Regions from separate parts of the Homo sapiens genome. Here all the other regions are linked to region 1. The links are contacts of gene promoters, found by promoter capture Hi-C in human tissues and cell types (Jung and others, 2019). All regions are on one chromosome and are shown on one strand. The core of a region is centred on a gene start or on the middle of the fragment in contact, and the rest is flanking DNA. Distances in the headings are between cores, read along the strand shown.

Region 1 (4,143 bases), core at 262-2,761:
ACGGGGTTTCTCCATGTTGGTCAGGCTGTTCTGGAAGTCCCGACCTCAGGTGATCCACCCACCTCAGCCTCCCAAAGTGCTGGGATTACAGGCGTGAGCCACCGCGCCCGGCCCAAAGTGTTTTTATGAAATATAATACTTATACAGAAAAGTCTATACACTTTAATGAGTAATTATAGTGAACATCCATTTCACCACTATCAGCATCCCAAAGGCCCACCTTGTGCTCTCTCCCTTCCCTGACATGCATACTATTAATCCCTCTTTATAGTTGAGAAAACGGGCTCATCAGAGTCTGTTGATGAGAACACAGTTGTCTGACTCCAGAGCCTGTTCTCTTAAACTCCATGCTAACTGACCTCTTTAGAGCCCTCAACCACAGAGCCAGTGAATGTGAGGGATCTTAGGTATTGTTTATTCCACAACCCATCTCCTGTGCCCTTCCCCATTTTGTACGTGAGTTCAGAGAAGGAAGTGACTTGACTAGTTCAAGATCACACAGAGTTACAGAATCGGAGTCTCCTCTTCCTCAGTCCTGTGCTCTTTCTACCGGCTGTAGATCTCCATAGCCTTGTGCACTGGGGATCCCAAATCTGCCATGCAAGCCAGTGGCTGGGATATAAGCCCCATGCAGGGCCAGCCTTACCTTGTTGTCATCTGTGAGCGGCGGCCCCTCCGCTGCACCTGCCGGTGCTTTATCATTATGTTCCAAGGGTTCTGTGGGGACCAACGGAACAAATGTCACTGCGGCCTGTGACACTGGGGTGGGGTGGAGGTGGAGGGTGGGTATGAAGTTAAACCTGGACATCCCTGCTTCTCAGATCCGTCACCATCTCTCCCGCCTTGGGGTGGGACGATAGTTGTAAGGCCTCCTCCACAAAAGAGGAACTGAGGAAGTTTCCTGCCTTAAAAGTCCCGACCCTGCCTTCTGGCACGGCAGGAGGAAGGGAAGCAGTATTTACCGAGGGTCAACTCTGTGTCAGGTGATGTCCGGGGCGTTGTACCCGCCTTTATCTTCCCATCCCACAACAAGTTTTATGAGACAGGTACTAATCATTTCCATTTTATAGAAGAGGATCCTGGGACTCAGGGGGTTGACAGAGATGGCCCACGTCACCTAGCTAGGAGGGCGGCACCAGAATTTAAATCCAGGTCGTCGGGCTGCGAAAACGCCAACCCCCTCTGCAGCTCCAGCCTCCGCGTTCTCTCGCCCGCGGGCCAGGGTCCCAGGAGCCCCGAGGCCGTGCCCGGCCTGAGCCCAGACCTCACCGGGGGCGCCCTCACCGTAAGAACCAGCTGCCCCGCTGCGCCCGCATCCCCCAGCTCCAAGCCGCCCCTCTCGGCCCCGCTAGGTCCCCGCGGCTGCTCGGCGTCGCCAGTGGCTCCCATGGCGCCCCCGGCCCCCACAACTCCGCTGGACTCTGTCACCGGCCGGAAAGTGGCGCCGTGACGTCACTGGAGCGCGCTGCTCGTCCGCCCGGAAGCGCGACGCTGGAGCTGCGGGGTTACCATGGGAACCGAACCGCCGCGCCTCGCCCAGGACAGTTACACTTAGAGGCCTTGTAGGTGGAGGTCGTTGGGGCTTCCTCTCGGGAGGGCTGCGCCTCGATTGTGCAGTGTGGGTGTTCAGTGGCGGTTCAGTCAAGGGATGTTTCCCGCTGGGCCAAGGCCTGGGGATGACTGCGGGGTAGGAGGAAGGGACCAGTTTTCTGTAGGCTGGGGTTGGGGAGCAGAGGGAAGCGTTTGGTACAGCGGCGCCTGCAGTTCAGTTTTTGAAAACTAGATTTTAATATGCTCGGCCAGGGGCGGTGGCTCACGCCTGTAATCCCAGCACTTTGGGAGGCCGAGGCGGGAGGATCACTTGCCATCAGGAGTTCGAGACCAGCCTGGCCAACATGGCGAAACCCCGTCTCTACTAAAAATATAAAAATTAGCCGGGCGTGGTGGTGGGCACCTGTAATCCCAGCTACTCGGGAGGCTGAGGCAGGAGAGTCTCTTGAACCCAGGAGGCGGAGGTTGCAGTGAGCCGAGATCACGCCACTGCACTCCAGCCTGGGCGACAGAGGGAGACTGTCTCAAAAAAAAAAAAAAAAAAAGCACATTAGGCACATGTTAGGTCATCATCAAATGTTAATTATGCCGAGATCGCGCCACTGCATTCCAGCCTGGGGGACAGAGGGAGACTCTGTCTCAAAAAAAAAAAAAAAAAAAAAAAAAAAAGCATATTAGGCACATATGAGGTCATCATCAAATGTTAATTATCTCCATGAGCCAACATCAGCCTTCTAACCATAAGGGCGACTTCCTGGCTCCAAACTTTTTGATCCTATTAAGGAGGTTTTACCTTGTACCTGCCCATAGGACTAAGCAGTGCCAGTGGACACCATTAGGTATCACAGCTAACCAAAGGCATGACCAGGACAGATAAAGAAAAAAAGAAATGGAGAAAAAAGAAATAAAGGAGGTATATGTGGGCAGACTATTTGAGTCATACATAGCAACTTCTCTTGGGTTCTGCCAGCTAGACTTCATACAGTCCAAGAATGGCCTGTGTGGGTTAGAGGGACAAAGATGTAGGTGTTTGGTGCTTTTCATTAGTTCTTAACAAACTCAACTACTGCTTTTCTGTAGGTTTTTGATAGTTTCTTTTCTCTCTTTTTTTTTTTTTTGAGACAGAGTCTCACTCTGTTACCCAAGCTGGAGTGCAGTGGCATGATCTCCACTCACTGCAACCTCTGCCTCCTGGGTTCAAGCTATTCTCCTGCCTCAGCCTCCCACGTAGCTGGGATTACAGGCATGCACCAGCATGCCCAGCTGATTTTTGTATTTTTAGTAGAGACAGGGTTTCGCCATGTTGGCCAGGCTGGTCTCAAACTCCTGACCTCAGGTGATCTGCCCGCCTTGGCCTATTTGATAGTTTCTGAGTGGTCTGTTCCATTCTGTATTTTCTTGGTTGCTAGGATGAACAGGAGCCACAATTTTATTATGCTTGGTTATGTTATTAGCTTTGGCCATTAAGTAGTGTCGTGAATCCCTCCCTCTGTTATTTGGGCTAAAGCCATGTCCTTCCAATGCCCTTTAGGGCTCTCTTTGATTCTTTTTCCAATGGCCACCCCTCCATTTTTCCAGCCACCCACTAGGTTTCTCATCATCCAGGAATATTGTGTATATTGCTTACAGAATTTGATCCTCCCATCACAGGTCCCCTTTGGTAGTGCCAGGAATTTTCCCACACTCCAGCAGCCAATCCCTCTTCTTCTTGTCAGGAGAAGATATTCTTGGGGAGTATTGTGAAAGGGAAGGTTTTGGGACTGGGTTTGGGGCCATCCCTAGTCCTGCTCATACCTCAGCTGATACTCTGGGCAAGGTGTACACCTCTAGCCTGAACTGAGCTCTTGTCCCAACTCTCAGCATCATCATGATGTTAAGCTGCCTCTTTCTTCTGAAGGCACTTCTTGCTCTTGGGTCTCTGGAATCCTGGATAACTGCAGGAGAACATGGTGAGCTATCATTTGGGATCCCTGGCCAACAGTAACAGAAAGTGACTAGAGGAGAGGAGAACTCATCCCCTGCCTTCTCCCAGAGCAAGGTTGCTTGTAAGTGGAGATGATCATCTCTATAGGACAGGACTGGATGAATAGATTCTCAGGATGGCCTGGGTCATTCTTCCTGGCTTTCTTTACCCTCTCTGGACAAGGAGATAGGACTTCCAGTTGGGCTTACTAGAGGTTCTAGCTTTTCCCTAGAACTCATTAAATGAGAACAGGATCATCCCACCCTTTCTCTCTCGTTATCTGCAGGATGGCTGCTCCTTTAGCAGTGGTGGATATATGTTAGTATTTGTGTATGAGGAGGGGAAGGTGGTTGCAGAATTTTTTTTTTTTTTTTGAGATGGAGTCTCACTCTGTCACCCAGGCTGGAGTGCAGTGGCGTGATCTCAGCTCACTGCAAACTCCACCTCCCAGGTTCACGCCATTCTCCTGCCTCAGCCTCCCGAGTAGCTGGGACTACAGGTGCCCGCCGCCACGCCCAGCTAATTTTTTGTATTTTTAGTAGAGATGGGGTTTCACTGTGTTAGCCAGGATGATCTCGATCTCCTGACCTCATGATCCGCCCGCCTCGGCCTCCCAAAGTGCTGGGATT
Region 2 (4,143 bases), core at 878-3,377, 400 kb after region 1:
AATCACTTGAAACTGGGAGGCGGAGGTTGCAGTGAGCCGAGATCGCACCACTGCACTCCAGCCTGGGCGACAGAGCAAGACCCTGTCTCAAAAAAAAAAAAAAAAAAAAAAAAAAAAAAGAATATTAATGTAAAATATTTTGTTAACATCTCAGAAAGACTTAAGGCAGTGCCTCAGAATACTATTCAGTCATATTTAAAGAGTCTAAACAAATTATGGATATGTCTCACAGATCCTCCAAATCAAAACAATAGTGATTCTGGAAATCTTACGGCTGATTGTTGTCTCTTAGCCATCTCAGCCGAAGCCTAGAGTAGAGAAGGGCTTATTGCAAAGAAATCTGTGGGCATGTCTTTTGTCTAACAGAGTAATATTGAATAAGATTCAAAGTGACCCACAAGTTTTAAAAAGGATTATATATCCAAAAACATCACCTTAGATTTGCAGGGATAAAAAGAGTACAAATAAAAAGAGGATTTCAGCCAGGCAGGATGGCTCATGCCTATAATCCCAGCACTTTGGGAGGCCAACGTGGGCAGATCACCTGCTGGATCAGGTGATCTAGAGATGAGAGAGAGAGAGAGAGAACAAAGCTTCAGGAACATGGAAGATTATAACAAAAGATTTAACATTTGTGTCATGGGAGTCCTAGGTGAAGAGAAAAAAAAAAGGTGGAGCTAAAAATGTGTTCAAAGAAATAAAGCTGAAAGTGTCCCAAATTTGATGAAAGACATACACACACGGATTCAAGAAGCTGACTAAACCCCAAGCATGATAAACCAAAGAAATCCATACAAGACACACCATAAACAAATTTCTGAAAACTAAAGTCTTGAAAGCAGTTGCAGAGAAATTAACCTTACCAATAATACAGCAACAATTTAAATTGCAGCAGATTTCTCATCAGAAACTGTGAAAGCCAGAAAGAAGTGGCACAATATGTTTAAGTACTGAAAGAAAAAACCGTCAACCCAGAATGCTAAGCAAAGTGAAAAAATCCTTCAGGTATGAAAGTCAAGACATTCTCAAATGAAGGAAAAACTAACATAATTTGTTAACTGAAGAACTATAGTAAGTCCTTAATGTCATCAATAGTTTCTTGGAAACTGCAACTTTAACCAAAATGATGTATAATGAAAGCAAGTTTATCGTAGACTAATTGATATTAACAAGGTAAGTCCATACAGCATACTTCTGGTCACAAAAACAATACCACGCTTCTAAATAAATGCCCAGACACATCTAGTATTAAACATTAAAATAAATGTGAGCTATACATACATTTAAGAAAGATTAATAAAACAGGGAAGTTCATTATTTACTCACCTATTGGTGATGTAATTAAAGTGAGGTCATGCTGGATTAGTATAAGCAGTGAGTGACAGCAGTCATCATGGTGGTGAGTTAAACCAAGGAATAAATCTTTGCAGAGCAAAAATTGTAAGGAGTATCTCCTACCACCATGCAGTTCAAAAACAATAATAAATATGGCAGGCTGGCTGAGTGCTCTTATACCAAATTATTTACTGTTATGCATTTGTATGATTATTATATACTTTACAAATTTTTATTTTACAATAATTTGTATTCACTTATTCTTCATTTCCAACCTGCTTATTCCATTTCAGGGTCCTGGGTGGCTGAATCTTATTCTGGCAGCTCAGGGTGCAAGGCACCCTGGAAAGGATGCCATTCCATCACAGAATGCGTGCACGCACACACACACACACCCCTCACTCATACTTGGATAATTTAGATAATTTAGATACACCAATTAACCTAATGTGCACATCTCTGGGATGTGGGAGGAAATTGGAGTGCCCAGAGAAAACCCACACAGACATGACGAGAATGTGCAAACTCTACACAGACAGTGGCCATGGCTGGGAATCAGTTGTTGTTTTTTTTTCTCATCAACATTATAAAGAAATGACGTTAAACAAAATAACATTATTTGAGGACCTGCTGTACCGTGAAAGAATGGCTAAAGGAAGTTCTCCAAACATAAAGGAAATGATGAAAGAAGAAAACCCGAAACATCAGGAGTGAAGAAAGAACAATGGAAATAATAAAAATATGGGTAAATATGATGGGCTATCCTTCTTCACTTGCATTTTCTAAATTATGTTTGATGGCTAAAACAGAAATTATATAACATGGTCTGATGTGGATTCAATTTATGTAATGAAGATATTTAAGACAATTACATTATGAAAGGAGAAGGGTAAAGGGACCTAAATAGAGGTCAGGCTTCTATCCCTCACTCAAAGTGGCAAAAGTGTCGATACCAGTAGATGGTCATAGATTATGTTATGTATGATGTAATATAGAAAGCAGCCACTAAAAAACCTACACAAAGAGATACACTTAAAAAAAACACTTCACCATAGATAAAAAAAATGGAATTCTAAAAACTGTTTAACCCATAGGAAGAGTAGAGAAATAAAAGAGAAGAATGAAAAGCAGAGGGAATGAAAAGAAAACAATCAAATGGCAGGCTTAAACCCTAACAAATAATTGCATTAACTGCCGGTAGTCTATAAATATACTTTATAACTCTGAGACTGGCAAAACGGAGTGAAAAAAATGACCCAAAATAAGCTCTCTACAAGAAACTCACTTCAAATATGACATAGGTAGACTGAACATAAAAGGATGAAAAAAGATACACCATACAAAGATTAATTAAAAGAAAGCAGAGTTAGCAATTTCAATATCAGATGAAATAGACTGCTGAGCAAAGAAAATCACCAGGGCCAAAAAAAGATATTAAATGGGTCAAATCACAAAGAAGACATAGCAATCATACATGTGTACATACCAAACAACAGATCTTAAAAATCTATGAAACAAAAATTGGTAGAACTGAAAAAAAAAATAGACATCTACTATTAAAGTTGGAGACTTCAACACATCTCTCTCAACACTTGATAGAAATACTAGACAGAAGGGTGGGCATGGTGGCTCACACCTGTAATCCCAACATTTTGGGAGGCCAAGGCGGGTGGATCACCTAAGGTCAGGAGTTCAAGACCAGCCTGGCCAACATGGTGAAACCCTGTCTCTACTAAATATAAAAATTAGCCGGGTGTGGTGGCGGGCGCCTGTAATCCCAGCTACTCGGGAGGCTAAGGCAGGAGAATTGCTTGAACCCGGGAGGCGGAGGCTGCAGTGAGCCGAGATTGTGCCACTGCACTCCACCCTGGACGACAGAGCAAGACTCTGTCTCAAAAAAAAAAAAAAAGAAACACTAGACAGGAAAGCAGCAAGGATGTATAAGAACTTTAAAAAGCCATCAATCAAAAGAATCTAATTAATATTTAGACAATACTTCACATAACAATAACAAGATTCACATTCTTTTGAAATGCTTATGGAACACTCACCAAGACTATATCTTAAGTCACAGAATAAAAGTCAACTAAAAAAAATTTTTTTAAAGAGACAGCATCTTGCTCTATTGCCCAGGCCGGAGTGCAGTGGTGCCGATCATGGCTTACTGCAGCCTTCAACTCCTATCCTCAAGTGATCCTCCTACCGTGGCATCCAAGAGACTTGGGATTACAGGCATGAACCACTGCTCCCGGCCTCAAGGAATTTTTGAAAATCAAAATCGCACAGCATGTGTTCTGAGATCACAATGAAATCAAACTAGAAATCAATAACAAAAAGATAATAGGTAAATCTCCAAACATATGGAAATTAAACACCTCATTTCTGAATAATACATGAGTCAAGAGGCGCAGTTGTGCACTGGGTCACCAAGATGACTCTCCCAAACTATACTCCATCACACCTGGCCCCTCTGCCCATGACCCTCAATCCAGCTGAATATGACATACCTCCACAAACTGCAACCTGAGCATTTGGCCATAAATCTGGGTTTAAACAGGGGTACTTAATCAGCACAATGACCCTAACCAATGATGATTCATCGAGGGCTCATCAAACATCTTGGCTTAATTTGTTGGACTTGTGTAAGATCAGCACATGTCTATCCCAATTTCAGACCCATTATCAAATACTCATCCAGTAGCTCTATGTGGAATCGGATCCGGTAGGGATAGGAAAGAAAAGCTTATCCAGGAAGAAAAATTGGATCAAACATTTAACATCTCATATTAAGTCTAGCAATGACGATTT
Region 3 (4,143 bases), core at 771-3,270, 310 kb after region 1:
CAACTTAGGAGAGTTAGAGTCCCTCCTAAGACAAAGAGGCTTAAAGGCCCCTGTTAATAAAAAGCAACGACGCTTGACCAAACCTGGGTTAAAGGCTTAACTTAGAAAAATTAGAGTCCCTTCTAAGCCATAGGGGGTGGCTGGGCGCGGTGGCTCATGCCTGTAATCCCAGCACTTTGGGAGGCCGAGGCGGGTGGATCACCTGAGGTCAGGAGTTCGAGACCAGCCTGGCCAACATGGTAACCCCACCTCTACTAAAAATACAAAATTAGCCGGGTGTGGTGGTATGTGCCTGTAATCCCAGCTACTCGGGAGGCTGAGGCAGGAGAATTGCTTGAACCTGGGAGGCAGAGGTTGTAGTGAGCCGAGATCGCACCACTGCACTCCAGCCTGGGCGACAGAGTGAAACTCCATCACAAACAAACAAACAAACAAACAAACAAAAATCCTGGCCGGCGCGGTGGCTCACGCCTATAATCCCAGCACATTGGGAGGCCAAGGCGGTGCGTCAGGAGATCAAGACCATCCTGGCTAACACCGTGAAACCCCGTCTCTACTAAAAATACAAAAAATTAGCCGGGCGTGGTGGTGGGCACCTGTAGTCCCAGTTACTCTGGAGGCTGAGGCAGGAGAATGACGTGAACCCGGGAGGCGGAGGTTGCAGTGAGCCGAGACTGCGCCACTGCACTCCAGCCTGGGCGACAGAGCGAGACTCTGTCTCAAAAAAAAAAAAAAGTATTTACCTTACATACAGGTAATGCGTGTATAAACACATACGCAAATAACACCTCTGAGGCCCGCAGGTCACTGCCACCTCTAACGGCCCCATTGGACTGTGAATTCCAGTGGGCCCAGCCATTCTCCCTCAGCCATGACTGGATCCGCAGGTCCCAACACAAGCCTCTCATCCAGCAGGCGCTCAACAAACACTCAAGTAACCCATCAGGCCCAGTTTTTGGAGAAGCCTGGGACTCACCTTGAGGGAAAGGATGTCCTCTGCGCGGATGACGAACTCGTCCTGCTCACGGAAAATGCCCTCTCCGCCACTCTCGTCAGCCTTCTAGTCCGTCTCTCCACACACGGCCGCCGTCTCCTGCTTCTTGGCCAGGTGCAGAGGCCAGGTGTCCGGCAGCTCAGCGTCCTCGGGGGATGGGGGGCGGGCTCCCCTGGAGGGGCAGCCGGTGGGGCAGCGGCTGGCGGGGGTGGCAGTGGAGGCGAAGGCATAGCTGGTGGAGGTGGCAGCGGTGGTGGCGGTGGTGAGCTGGACGTGGGGGCCACCAGCGGGGGTGGTGAGGGCAGGGCTGGCTGTGGCGGCGGAGCGGGTGGGAGAGGCTGAGGAGTCGGGGCTGGAGGTGGAGTGGGTGGAGATTTCTTCTCCAGCAGAGGGGGCTCTTTCTGTATTTTGTAAATTTTTCTTTCTGTATTTTTCTGTCATAAAAAGGGGTACCTTAGGATGAAGCACAACTCCAGCCTGGGCAACACAGCAAAAAACTCCATCTCAAAAAGAAGAAAGAGAGAAAGAGAAAAAAAGAAAGAAAAGAGAAAGACAGTGGTTAGAAAGAAAAGAGAAAGACAGTGGGTCAGAGGTCCCCCTCAGTAACATCCCTCTTGGTTAGAAATGGATTTGGCACTATGAAATGTTAACTGCTATTCTCTGGATTAATCTGCCTTGCACTGTTTGCTGATGGCTACAGGTGACTGGATTAGGCATGTACAGGATCTTGGAACATGGGGAACTTTTTTCTCCCCAGAGGGGGCAACTTGAGAGCTGATGGGACTGCTGGAAAAGATCCCTTTGTGACTGACAAGTACCTGCCTGAACTTTTGATTCAGTGTTGCTGCAATGGGTGGGTATTCCTCTGGTCTCCCTGAGCTCCCCGCTTCCCCACCCTGCCTCAGACCAGGCTTCTCTCTCTTACTCTCTCTTTCTCTCCTTTTCTTTTCCTATCGTTTCTGTTACTTGAGACTACCTGCTCTTCCATCTTGCCCAGAGACCACATGTTGAAATTCCGGGTCGGAGGTCACTCCACCCCACTTTGAATGGATTAAAGATGACAAGGCCCAACCGGGGGCAAGTTTGAGCCTTGCCAGTTAGATATTGGGTGCTAAGCAGAGCGGCTAATGTCTATGTTTTGTCACACGTATTTTGCTCTGGCTGGAATGGAAAATGTTCATTTGGTTACCCCATGCAACCCACTGGGCAGCATCTTACAAAATTGAGATTTTTTTTTTTTTAATTTTGTGTTGCAGCTTGGCCTCCAGGGCTATGATGCAGCAAGTAGATTCGCTAGGGCCACTCAGGGAAAGGGAACCCAGAAACCTGGCATGCCAGCAAAAGGGTAAGAATTTCTTACCAGTCAGACTTCTGGCCTCTCTCTGTGCGCGCCGACTGTAGGAATGGTAAAAATCACTGCCTCCTCTGCAAAGTTTCAATTAATGAAACAAAAGCCTTCATGTGGCTAGTATTAAGCTGTAGCAAATCTGGTGTAATTTGTGCTATGAATTTGTCTTTCTGTATTTTTCTGTCATAAAGAGAGGTACCTTAGGATAGAATATGGGCTTAGGACCCGGTAAGCTTGCTGTTCAAGCCAGTCCGGCACACTGGTCAGTTACAAACTTTGCGGCAGGTCCCTGAAACAAACAAAAAACTGACTGAAGTTTTCCCCTTGTCTTATGCCCTTGGAAGCTTGACCTTGTAACCATATGGTGGTATACCTTCTTAGTCTCCAGCATCCAGAGGACAGGAATTTTGAGGTTCACGTCATAGCCCTAAAAATTGTCTTGAGCAGTTAAAAGCCTTTGCAAGCTCAAAATTGGCTGCCTCTAGGGTCCTTCTAAGAAAAGAAATGGAAACTGCCCAATGCTGAAGCTTAGTAGCTAAGGTTTTGTCTTTTCACAATGGCAGCCCACATTCAGGGTTCAATTCCCAGCTCAGGGAATTAGTCCTTTCTAGTTTGATATCTACGTGAGCTTTGCCATTTGTTGATTCTCTGCCCCTCCTTGAACAACATCTGGCTTTCCTTTTTGAATTTTCCCTTCTCTAAGCTGCCTTTGTAGATTCTAAATCTTGTAAAAACTGCTTACCACCTGTTTGAAAATACTTCGTACACCTGTGGTTAAGTCACAACCTTAGTTAAGGCTTATTGGTTTCACCTGGGAGATTACCTTTGGTAAAGTTTAAAGGCCATAAATATTGGCTGTTTGTCCCGGCTAGAGTCTGGTAATAAGAGATTTTGTTAAAAGTTAGCTTAATTAAAAGCAGATATCCAAGCTATACGTATATTTAAAAGGTCTTTATGTTTTTTTCTCTTCTTGGATCTTATGAAGAAAAAAGTATTTTTTTTTACCAGGGGAAAACAAGACAAGGGGAAAAAAAAGGTATTTTTTTTTTCACAGTCAACTGAATTGTTTCTCTGTTTTGCCTTCTTGCCACTCTTGATGCACATGTGAGAGGACCTAAGATAATTTCTAATAGCCTTGGACTCCTTGAGAAAAACAGAGGAGGTGCCACAGACCCCGTTTTAGGGAAAACATCTGTTTTCCTCATTAAGACCCAGGGATTGGAAGCAGATAGATCTCTCTCAAAAGCTAAGGCTCTGTTCTGTTTTGCATTGCGTTATTTGACATTTTTTACTTTTTAGAGTATCAGAAATTACTTCACATTATGAGTGAGCTTTGGTGTGTAATAACTAGGTAGCAAATATACTTTTGGGCATGGCCAGTGGCAGTTATGGCGGGATACTTGGCTCTCTGCACGTTTGGATCAGAGAGGCGTGCTCTCAGCCACCTGGAAGGTATGGAAACATCCCCATCCCCCACCCCACCACTGAGATAAGGCTTCCGTGGGGGATAGGCTGATCACAGAATGGGCTGATTGACTCTGGGTTGTCTTGCAATGAAACTCACAGTAAGATCATTCATTGTCTTGTTCTGTAGTATTTCTTTTTTGGGAATTGAGGATCCGGTATAAAAATAGGACCCTGAATTTTGGGGGATCTGTTTTGCTTTCCATCTGTATCTGCTTATTAAGCCCTAGAAACGGCATGTTTTCCTAACCCTGTTCCTCAAAGGACCCCACCCTGAAGCCAGTAATCCAATTAAGAAACTTAAAAACTGCCAAATGAAAAATCGTAACAACTACTG

What was found. The method cuts DNA at HindIII sites, captures the fragments that hold promoters and counts their contacts. A contact is called where the count stands out against the background at its distance.
Region 2: a fragment that was not itself captured here is called in contact with the fragment with the promoter of WFDC3 in region 1 in 2 of the 25 tissues and cell types used here (dorsolateral prefrontal cortex and mesendoderm cells).
Region 3: a contact is called between a fragment that was not itself captured here and the fragment with the promoter of WFDC3 in region 1, in 2 of the 25 tissues and cell types used here (H1 embryonic stem cells and mesendoderm cells).

The regions. Positions count from the first base shown.
Region 1 is chr20:45,789,251-45,793,393 of GRCh38, reverse strand. WFDC3 (WAP four-disulfide core domain 3) reads left to right here and starts at 1,511. Exons shown (of 7, transcript NM_080614.2): 1 at 1,511-1,562; 2 at 3,412-3,500. The coding sequence starts at 3,419. DNTTIP1 (deoxynucleotidyltransferase terminal interacting protein 1) reads right to left here and starts at 1,440. Exons shown (of 13, transcript NM_052951.3): 1 at 1,285-1,440; 2 at 647-717. The coding sequence starts at 1,389. RefSeq lists silencers at 738-877, 1,088-1,357. The HindIII fragment of the contact is 18,270 bases long and covers 1-4,143 here.
Region 2 is chr20:45,388,329-45,392,471 of GRCh38, reverse strand. All of the region lies in intron 3 of SYS1-DBNDD2 (SYS1-DBNDD2 readthrough (NMD candidate)), which reads right to left. It also overlaps the pseudogene NDUFB4P10. Among named protein-coding and RNA genes, the nearest start is that of TP53TG5, 12 kb to the right of the region's middle. The HindIII fragment of the contact is 5,202 bases long and covers 1-4,143 here.
Region 3 is chr20:45,484,544-45,488,686 of GRCh38, reverse strand. LOC107987282 (a long non-coding RNA gene) reads right to left here and starts at 1,075. Exons shown (of 4, transcript XR_001754641.3): 1 at 977-1,075. The HindIII fragment of the contact is 3,122 bases long and covers 460-3,581 here.